2 separate regions of the Homo sapiens genome follow, and region 2 is linked to region 1. Evidence: promoter capture Hi-C in human tissues and cell types (Jung and others, 2019). All regions are on one chromosome and are shown on one strand. The core of a region is centred on a gene start or on the middle of the fragment in contact, and the rest is flanking DNA. Distances in the headings are between cores, read along the strand shown.

Region 1 (5,524 bases), core at 672-3,171:
ATTCTCCTGCCTCAGCCTCCCGAGTAGCTGGGACTACAGGCGCCTGCCACCACGCCTGGCTAATTTTTAGTAGAGACGGAGTTTCACCGTGTTAGCCAGGATGGTCTCGATCTCCTGACCTTGTGATCCGTCCGCCTCGGCCTTCCAAAGTGCTGGGATTACAGGCGTGAGCCACCGCGTCCAGCCACTTTTGCTTTCTTTTGAGACAAAGTCTTGTTCTGTTAGCCAGGCTGGAGTAGAGTGGCAAAATCATAGCTCACTGCAGCCTTGAACTCCAGGGCTCAAGAGATCCTCCTGAGTAGCTGGGACTACAGGAATGCACCACCACACCTGGCTAATTTAAATAAATCTGTATTTTTTTTGTTTGGTACCAGAAGGATTAAAGTTATAAATATATGTACACATAAATAAATAAATATATAAACACACACACACACACACACACACACACATATATATACACACACACTAGAGATGCGGGGGGGGGGGTTCTCACTATCTCGCACAGGCTGGTCTCAAACTCCTGGCTTCAAGCAATCCTCCTGCCTCAGCCTACTGAGTAGCTGAGACTACAGGCGGCACCAGCCTGGATAAGTTTTTTAATTTTTTGGTAGAGACAGGGGTCTCGCTTTGTTGCCCAGGCTGGTCTTGAACTCCTGGCCTCAAGCTATTATTTACTACTCAGCTTCCCAAAGCGCTGGGATTTCAGGCATGACTTTGCAGGGAGCAGCAAACAAGCCAGTCTGCTGCCCCCATAGCCTCCGGTAGTGAGCAGTCACAGGATGCTCACTCCCTGGGTGCCTTGATTATTATATTGGCTGCCTGTGTAACTGACTACAGAAACTGCTCCATCAGAAGATGGAAGCTTTGGAGCCTTGTATTCTCAGCCAGAGCAGGCGCGGTTGCTCAGGCTAGCGGCTGTCTCAACAATGTACTGTAACATTCCCTCCAAAAAGTCCTCAACATTTAAGCTTGCCTTCTACTGTGTGTAAGTTGCATGTCCGAAACACTCCATTACGGATATGGGAATATAATCAATCCATGTGACTTAGCCAATCTGATGAGTGAGAGATGACTTATCTTCCTTGTGTTACTTTTCATTTCTCTTGAGGTTGAATACTTTACAAATATTTATCGATAATTTGTGAAACTGTTCTTTAAAAAACAAAACAAAACAAAAAAACCTAACCCCTCCCCTGAGATTTCTCTTTCCACGTTCCTGACTCAGGGGAAACAAAGGAAGACTTCCTTTTATCATCTCAGTGTTGGCTGCGGTTCCAGCTTGAGTACTGTCTCCTCTGTCTAATGACTGTGTCATTTCCCGTTCAGCTTGTGCTGTGTGGACGCACACCACTGTCAGGCAATGTGTGATGCCCCTTCCTCTTGGTCTGTTCCGGGCTCCAAGAAGGCCAGGAGTCAGGGCACGAGGGCATTTCCTTTTTCTGATACATAAACCGAGTGCAGAGTGTGCTCCGTGGAGGAATTCAGACGTGTCCTTCCGTAGCGCAGATGAACGCATCAGGTGTTCTCTTTCACTGCTGTCGCAGTCCCTGCGCCCAGTTCGCAGTTGGCGGCAGCGGCAGGCGTCTTTCAGAGACGAATTAGCAAAGGGGACATTCTCTGACAGTTTCTCTAGGGTGCTTTAGCGCTAGAGCCCGTGCCAGCCTGCCCGTGTCCCCTCCTATAGACACGGACTTCACGGTGAATGCTGACAGTCACAAGCGCGTGGTCTTCCCGCTTTCCACCCCCCGACGTGCCCCCGCGCTGGTCCTGCCCCTGCCCACGAGGGTCGGCGCGCCGTGTGTCTCCCGGTGTCTCGGGCCCGCGGCGCGCACCCCACTCAGGGACCAAGCGGCCCTCCCCGCCCTCCCGGTCCGCGCGCGCAGCCAATGGGCGCGGGACCCGCCCTCCCCGGAGCCCAGAGCTCGCAGCTCCGCCGGCGCCTGGTCCCAGCGCCCGCGGCGCCGCGTCCCCGGCCCAACCATGGCGTCCTCCGCGGCCGGCTGCGTGGTGATCGTTGGCAGGTAAAGGGCTCCGAGCCGCGCTGCTGCCCCTGGAGCCCGGGGAGACGCCGGGGACGTGGTGCCCTCGCGTGGGGCCCTCGGGGTGGGCGCCGGGTCGCTGTCCCCGCCCCGGCCTCCGGTCCTCCGAAGCCCTGCGCCCTGCGGCCCCTACGGCGCTGGCGGGCTCGGGGAGAGGCGCGGCTGGAGGGGCTTGGCAGGTGGAGGCGCCCCGCGGAGTTGGGTCTGCTTCCCGGGAGCCAGCGTTGCAGGAGGTTCCGAGGTTGACCGCCCAGGCCGCGGGGCCTGCGGTTCCTGGACTCTGTTGAATGTCGCCGCGTCTGCCCGCAGGTCCACATAGAAGTGCCAGGCACCGTGTTGAATGAAACGAATTCTGGCTGCGATCCTGCGACGACTGTGTTCTCATCCCCATTTTACGAATGAGAATACTGAGACTAAGCAGTTTACCTAAGGTCACAGGCGTTTAGTGACGGAGACAGGACTAGCCCAGCAGGGAGGGTGCCAGCGCAGTCCTGTCGGCGACGATGTCGCTGGAGGCCGCAGCAGGTGTTAGGCGAACATACACGCAGTCCTAATTCCTGGGCGAGGCGATGTTTCCAGAGGGGAGGTGGGGGCCGATGGAGCCCAGAGAGTTTGCTAAGTGTGTCCATTTAACAGCTTAAATTCTGCCCAAACTGATTTTTAGTGTGTGCTTCCCCCACCCCGCCCCCCACCCCTACGGTTACAATCCTTGCTATTTTTGTTTTTTAAAAAGGGGCATTTGTATGTACCTTTCTTTGGCCAGCTGTTAGCAGCAATCTATAAACATGTTAATACTTGCTATTGATAGTTAAAAGCACCTTTTTGGTGACTGCTGTTGAGGTGTTGGCCTGCCCCCGACTCCGCCCCCCATCAGTGTACAACCCGGTGTGGAGACCACTTCCAATGTCAGGGTGTTTCCTTCCCACTGAAGGAAGGCATCAGATTCCTTGTTGTCAGCTTTCTTTTCTCCAGAGCAGTGGAGTTAACTGTGCCTTTGTTCTTTCTGGCCCATGAGTGCCCGTGGTTGAATAGTGAAGGCATATTAAAAAGTGCACTTTGGGCCGCGCGCGGTGGCTCACCCCTGTAATCCCAGCACGTTGGGAGGCCGAGGCAGGCGGATCATCTGAGGTCGGGAGTTCGAGACCAGCCTGACCAATATGGAGAAACTCCGTCTCTACTAAAAATACAAAATTAGCCGGGCGTAGTGGCACATGCCTGTAGTCCCAGCTACTCGGGAGGCTGAGGCAGGAGAATCCTTTGAACCCGGGAGGCGGAGGTTGCGGTGAGCCGAGATGGTGCCATTGCACTCCAGTCTGGGCAATAAGAGCGAAACTCCGTCTGAAAAAAAAAAAGTGCACTTTGTACCAGTGGTGGTAGTTACCTCTGTCTTGCATTTTATTAATAGTTACCAGAGTTTATGTGTGTGTGTATATATATACACTCACACATATATATACACACACAGTTTTTACACGCATGCGTGCGCGCACGCGCACACACACACAATTTTAATAGGATAGGGTCTCGCTCTGTCGCCCAGGCTGGAGTGCAGTGGCACTATCATGGTGGATCTCCACCTTCCGGGCTCAAGCCATCCTCCCACAGCAGGCATGTGTCACCATACCCGGCTGATTTTTAAAATTTTTAGGTAGAGATGGGGTCTCACCATCTTGCCCTGGTTGGTCTTGAACTCCTGGGTGCAAGCGCTTTGGCCTCCCAAAGTGTTGGGGTTACAGTTGTGAGCCACCTTGCTTGGCCTTGTATAGGTCCATCATGCCTTGGAGTAGTGTTATGCATGCACCTAATACATGTGAAGTAAAGTTTTAGTTGATTGTGCAGTTATCTGGCTGTGGGTGGCTCAGTCTACTGAGGAGGAGCTTCAGTTAACAGTTTACTTCTGATTCCTTGAGGGATGTTGATAAGGAATTAGAGAAAGGCTTCCAAACTTTAAGGACCACATAATTCTCTGGGGCCTCTGCTTGTTTCTTTGTTTTCTGGTGTGAAAATCTTGTCTTTCCCCCACCCTCAGCACTTCAGCACACACCCAGCTCTGCCTCTGGGACAGTGCTGGTTTCTTCCCTTCCTCTTTACCACCCTTCTTTCTCGTCCCTCTATTTCTTTCCTGGCCCCACAGGTGATTCCAAGGAACACCCACTTAACAAATAGGGCTTGGGGAATGTCAATTAATTTGCCAAAACCTGGTTCAGTTTCATTCTTAGGTTTCAACAGACCAAAATATACATATTTCAATTTCAGGAGCATATTGTGTTTTCAGCTTTCCTTATCAGTTTATAGATTTCATCTTGAAAGTACCTGCTAGGAATACAGTCCCACTTAATTCTTTTCCGCTGATCTTTTTCCAAAGTTCACTCTTCCTTAGGGCCACTTAGCTGTCCTATAAACATCCAGGGCAAGTCCCTTCAGAATGGGGAGGGCTTGAAAGAGGATGAGAGAAACTCTTTTGGGCCTAGGGCTGCAGGAAAATCTGGTAGTGATAACTTTTAAAAATGGGAGTAGAAGTCCAGGCATGGTGGCTCATGCCTGTAATCTCAGCACTTTGGGAGGCCTAGGAGGGCAGATCACCTGAGGTCAGGGGTTCGAGACCAGTCTGGCCAACATGGCGAGATCCCGTCTCTACTAAAAATACAAAAATTAGCCGGGCGTGGTGGTGCATGCCTGTAATCCCAGCTACTCAGGAGGCTGAGTCAGGAGAATCGCTTGAACTCAGGAGGCGGAGGTTTCAGTGAGCCAAGATCACACCACTGCACTCCAGCTGGGGGATAGAGTGAGACTCCATCTCAAAAAAAAAAAAAAAAAAAAAAAAGTAGAAATGGGTATCATGAAGATAAATTTGCATTGGAGTAGTGTTCTAAGGCTTTCATTTTGTTAGCCTTACCTTTATAAAACACTGTGTTTCTAAATCGCTAAAATATGAGTTCTGTATTTGTATACACACTGCAAGATTCAGCTTGTAGCCCTTGAGCTTGTTTAGAATAGGAACACAAAATGTTCCTGGTGCAGGGCATGCCCTTTCTCCTGTCCTGCTTTTTAGGGGGCACACTCTTTCAGGATCAAGCTCAGGGACTGTCTCCTCCAGGAAAAGTTCTGCTTCTGGGCCTTTCCCCTAAGGATAGAAACTGTATTGTTGCCATTTGTATCCACCATGCGTGGTCCCAATAGACAGATAGTTGAGCGTTTGTAACAGAGACTGCTTATTTTTTAACTGATGTGCCCTATGAAGGGCTTGGTAGGACGTTGTTTTATATCAAGAAAAACATCCCATAAACTAGAAAGGCAAGAAAGAAAGGTATCCTATAAACTACAGTCTCCTTCATTTTTTTTAATTCCAAAATTTTGTTTGGGGTGATTGTACTTTTTTTTTTTGAGACGGATTCTTGCTCTGTCAGGCTCAGGCTGAAGTGCAGTGGCACCATCTCAGCTCACTGCAACCTCTGCCTTCTGGATTCAAGCAATTCTCCTGC
Region 2 (5,524 bases), core at 880-3,379, 52 kb before region 1:
AGTAAAGGGGACTTTGTCTTGCAACTTAGGTATCAGCTCAGCCACAGTGGGTTAGAGCATCAAGTGGGTTCTTAGGGTCCCTGATTCCAGGCCTTGGCTCTTGGGTAGCATTTCTGGACCTACCCTGAGCCAGAGGGACACCCACTGCCTTGAAGGGTGAGTCCCAGGCCTGGCAGAATTCACCAAAACCTGAAGGAATAGCCCTTGGGCCTTAAGTAAACATTGGCGATACCCTGGTAGTACTCTCTGCGGGTCTGTTGTGGTGACAGACACAGGAGAGAATCTGCTGCCTGGGGAAAAGGGTGGAAAGAGTGGAAAGGACTTTGTCTTACGGTTCAGTGCCAGCTCAGCAGCAGCAGAAGAATAGAGCACCAAGCAAATTTCTAAGGATTCTGACTCCAGGCCCTGGCTCCCAGACAGCATCTCTGGACCCACCCAGGGCCCAGGGGAACTGGTTGACTTAAGGGAAGGATACAAGCCTGGCTGGTTTCACCAAAAGCTGTGGGATACAGTGAAAACAGTATTAAGAGAGAAGTTTATAGTTATAAGTGTTTACATCAAAAAAGAAGAAAAACTTCAAATAACCTAATGATGCATCTCGAACTAGAAAAGCAAAGCAAACCAAACCCAAAGAAAATAATAAATATCAGAGCAGAATAAATGAAAATGAATCAAAGACAACAATACAAAAGATCAACAAAACAAAAAGTTGGTTTTGTGAAAAGATAAAATTGACAAACCGTTAGCCAGACTAACTACAAAGAAAGAGAGAAGACCAAAATAAGTAAAATCAGAGATAAAAAAGGGACATTACAACTGATACCATAGAAATGTGAAGGATCGGCTGGATGCGGTGGCTCACACCTGTAATCCCAGCACTTTGGGAGGCCTAGGCAGGCAGATCTTCTGAGGTCAGCAGTTCAAGACCAGCCGAACCAACATGGTAAAACCTCATCTCTACTAAAAATACATCATTAGCCGGGCGTGGTGGCACATGCCTGTAATCCCAGCTACTTGGGAGGCTGAGGCAGGAGAATCACTTGAACCCAGGAAGCAGAGGTTGCAGTGAGCTGAGATTGCACCATTTCACTCCAGCCTGGGCAACCAGAGCGAGACTCTGTCTCAAACAACAACAACTACAACAAAACCAGAAATTTGAAGGATCATTAGAAGCTACTATGAGCACCTATATACCAATAAATTGAAAACCTAGAAGAAAGAGATAAATTCCTAGACATATACAACCTACCAAGATTGAACCATGAAGAAATCCAAAACCTGAACAGACCAATAAGAAGTAACAAGACTGAAAAAAAAAAAAAAAAAAAAAAAGTAACAAGACTGGGCCAGGCTCAATGACTCACGCCTGTAATCCCAGCACTTTGGGAGGCCGAGGCGGGCTGATCATGAGGTCAGGAGATCGAGACCATCCTGGCTAACACGGTGAAACTCTGTCTCTACTAAAAAAAATACAAAAAATTAGCCAGGCGTGGTGGCAGGCACCTGTGGTCCCAGCTACTCGGGAGGCTGAGGCAAGAGGATGGCGTGAACCTGGGAGGCAGAGCTTGCAGTGAGCTGAGATTGCACCACTGCACTCCAGCCTGGGCTACAGAGTGAGACTCCATCTGAAAAAAAAAAAAAAAAAAAAAAAAAAAAGAAGTAACAAGACTGAAGCCACAATAAAAAGTCTCCCAGCAAAGAAAAGCTCGGCACCTGATGGCTTCACTGCTGAATTTTACCAGACATTTAAAGAAGAACTAATATAAATCCTACTCAAATTACTCCAAAAAACAGAGAAAGAGGAAATACTTCCAAACTCATTCTATAAGGCCAGTATTACCGATACCAAAACCTGACAAAGATGCATCAAAGAAAGAAAATTATAGACCAACATCCCTGATGAACATTGATGCAAAAATCCTCAATAAAACACTAGCAAACCAAATCCAACAATACATTAGAAAGATCATTCATCATCACCAAGTGGGATTTAGCCCAGGGATGCAAGGATGGTTCAACTTATGCAAATCAATCAATGTAATACATCATATCGACAGAATAAAGAACAAAAACCACATGATCATTTCAACTGATGCTGAAAAAGCATTAGGTAAAATTCAACATCCCTTCATAAAAACCCTAAAAAAAAACTGTGTATAGAAGAAACATACCTCAACGTGAAAAAAGTCATGTAACAGACTCACAACTAATATACTGAATGAAAAAAAACTGAAAGCCTTTCCTTTAAGATCTGGAACATGCCAAGGATGACCACTGTCACCACTGTTATTCAACATAGTACTGGAAATCCTAGCTAGTGCAATCAGGCAAGAGAAAGAAATAAAGGGCATCCAAACCAGAAAGGAAAAAGTCAAATTACCCTAGTTTATAGATGATATGATCTTATATTTGGAAAAACATAAAGACTCCACCAAAAAACTATTAGAACTGATAAATTCAGTAAGGTTGCAGGATACAAAATCAACCTACAAAAATCAGTAGCATTTCTATATGTCAAAAGTGAACAATCTGGAAAATAAATCACGAAAGTAATCCCATTTAGAATATCTACGAATAAAATTAAATATCTAGAAATTAACTTAACCAAAGAAGTGAAAATATCTACAATGAAACCTATAAAACATTGGTGCAAGAAACTGAAGAGGACATAAGAAAATGGAAAGATGTTTCATGTTCATAGATTGGAAAAACCAATATTGTTAAAATGTCCATACTACCCAAAGTAATCTACAGATTCGGTGCAACACCTATCAAAATACCAATGTCATTATTCACAGAAACAGAAGAAAACATCCTAAAGTCTATATAGAACTACAAAAGACCCAGAATAGCCAAAGCTGTCCTGAGCAAAAAGAACAAAACTGAAGAATTACATTACCTGACTTCAAATTACACTATAGAGCTATAGTAACCAAAACAGCATGATACTGGCATAAAAACAGACAGACTAATGGAACAGAATAGAGAACCCAGAAACAAATCTAGACATCTACAGTGAACTCATTTTTGACAAAGGTGCCAGAAACATACATTAGGGAAAAGACATTCTCTTCAATAAATGGTGCTGAGAAAATTGAATATCCACATGCAGAAGAATGAAACTAGACCCTTATCTCTCACCATATGCAAAAATCAAATAAAAATGGATGAAGGACTTAGAAATCTAAGACCTCAAACTATGAAACTACTAAAAGAAAACACTAGGGAAACTCTCCAGGACACTGGACTGGGCAAAGATTTATTGAGTAATACCCCACAAGCACAGGCAATCAAAGCAAAAATGGACAAATGAGATCACATCAAGTTAAAAAGCTTCTGCACGACAAAGGAAACAATGAAGTGAAGAGACAACCCACAGAATGGGAGAAAATATTTATAAACTATCCCTCTGACAAGGGATTAATAACCAGAATATGTAAGGAACTCAAACAACTCTGTAGGAAAAAATCTAATAATCTGATTTAAAAATGGGCAAAAGATCTGAATAGATATTTCTAAAAAGAAGACATACAAATGGCAAGCATGTATATGAAAAAGTGCTCAACATTATTGACCATCAGAGAAATGGAAATCAAAACTACAACGAGATGTCATCTCATTCCAGTTAAAATGGCTTTTATCCAAAAGACAGGTAATAACAAATGGTGGTGAGAATGTGGAGAAAAGGGAACCCTCATATACTGTTAGTGAGAATGTAAATTAGTACAACTACTATGGAGAACAGTTTAGAGGTTCCTCAAAAAACTAAAAATAGATCTATCATATGATCCAACAATCCCACTGCTAGGAATATACTCAAACGAAAAGAAATCAGTATGTACCAGGCCGTTCTTGCATTGCTATTAGGTTGGCGCCAAAGTAATTGCAGTTTTGCAATTAAAATGGCAAAAACTGCAGTTACTTTTGCACCAGAGAATGCTTGAGATTGGGTAATTTATAAAGAAAAGAGGTTTGATTGGCTCATCGTTCTGCAGGCTGTACAAGCATGATATCAGTATCTGCTCAGTTTCTGGGGAGGCCTCAGGGAGCTTTCACTCATGACAGAAGGCAAAATGGGAGCAGTCACATCACATGGGGTGAGGATGGCACCAAGAAGATCATGCTAAACCATTCATGAGAAATCCACTCTCATGATCCTATCGCCTCCCACCAGGTCTCACCTCCAATGCTGGGTATTACAATTCAACATGAGATGTGCGTGGGGATAAATATACAAACTCTATCACAGTATATCAAAAAGATATCTGCACTCCCATGTTTGCTGCAGCAGTATTCACAATAGCCAAGATTTGGAAGCAACCTAAGTGTCTGTCAACAGACAAATGGATAAAGAAAATGTACATATATACAATGGAAAACTAGCCATAAAAAAGAATGAGATCCTGTCATTTGCAATAATGTGGATGGAACTGGAGGCCATTCTATTAAGTGAAATAAGCCAGGCACAGAAAGACAAACATCGCATGTTTTCACTTATTTCTGGGATCTAAAAATTAAAACAACTGAACTCAAGGAGATAAAGAATAGAAGGATGATTACCAGAGGCTGGGAAGGGTAGTGGCAGGGGAGGGGGTGAGAATGGTTAATAGGTACAAAAAAAAAAACAAAAAGAAAGCGTAAGATCTAGTATTTGATAGCAAAATGGGGTGACTATAGTCAATAATTTAATTGTACATTTAAAAATAACTAAAAGAATATAATCGGATTGTTTGGAACACAAAGGATAAATGCTTGATGTAACAGAAACCCTATTTACCCTTATGTGATTATTACACATTGTATGCCTGTATCAAAATATCCCATATTCCCCATAAATATATGCACCTACTATGTACTCACAAAAATTAAAACCAAAAAACAAGACATTTCAACTTTAAAATTTTTCTTAAAACCCTAATTTTAAATACTTTCAGGTGATCTAAGTCTTTTACACATTTGGATAGCTAGTGCTGAAGAATACAAGTATATATAATTCACCTTAATTCATTTTTGTAACCTGTCTCATGATCTTTCCTTCTGCTGCAATTATTATTTTTGGTGGAAGTCAGTAGAGTCTTCTGTAATAGCACTTTTCTAGGTTTTTGAATCAGCTTATTTAATCTAAAGCATAATAAAGTAGAACTCTCAAATCCACAGTCTTCATAAACCAGCTGGTTAACCAAGACCAATGTAAAAAACAACTAGCTTTTGTTACCTCGATATCATAGATTGGATTGTAGTCATTATAGCCGGAATAAAGATCATCTTCATCTGTCTCTGGAGCCAGGTGCACATTTTGCATCATTTGTACCTAGGAAAAACTGGCAGTGTAAATATGTTCTTGGTATAAGAAATATATATATATATTTTTTGAGATATGTCTTGCTCTGTTGCCCAGGCTGGAATGCAGTAGCACAATCACGGCTCACTATAGCCTTGATCTCTCTGGCACAAGTGATCCTCCCACCTCAGCCTCCCTGGTACTATAGGCTTGTGCCACCACACCCAACTAAGTTTGAAATTT

Evidence for each region. Contacts are between HindIII fragments. The study calls those that stand out against the background at their distance.
Region 2: a contact is called between a fragment that was not itself captured here and the fragment with the promoter of CRYL1 in region 1, in 1 of the 25 tissues and cell types used here (H1 embryonic stem cells).

The regions. Positions count from the first base shown.
Region 1 is chr13:20,522,254-20,527,777 of GRCh38, reverse strand. CRYL1 (crystallin lambda 1) reads left to right here and starts at 1,921. Exons shown (of 8, transcript NM_015974.3): 1 at 1,921-2,024. The coding sequence starts at 1,984. RefSeq lists an enhancer at 1,406-1,515 and a silencer at 1,696-2,245. The HindIII fragment of the contact is 16,444 bases long and covers 1-5,524 here.
Region 2 is chr13:20,574,167-20,579,690 of GRCh38, reverse strand. IFT88 (intraflagellar transport 88) reads right to left here. Exons shown (of 26, transcript NM_006531.5): 2 at 5,216-5,311. The coding sequence starts at 5,305. Among named protein-coding and RNA genes, the nearest start is that of IFT88, 9.8 kb to the right of the region's middle. The HindIII fragment of the contact is 4,952 bases long and covers 1-4,605 here.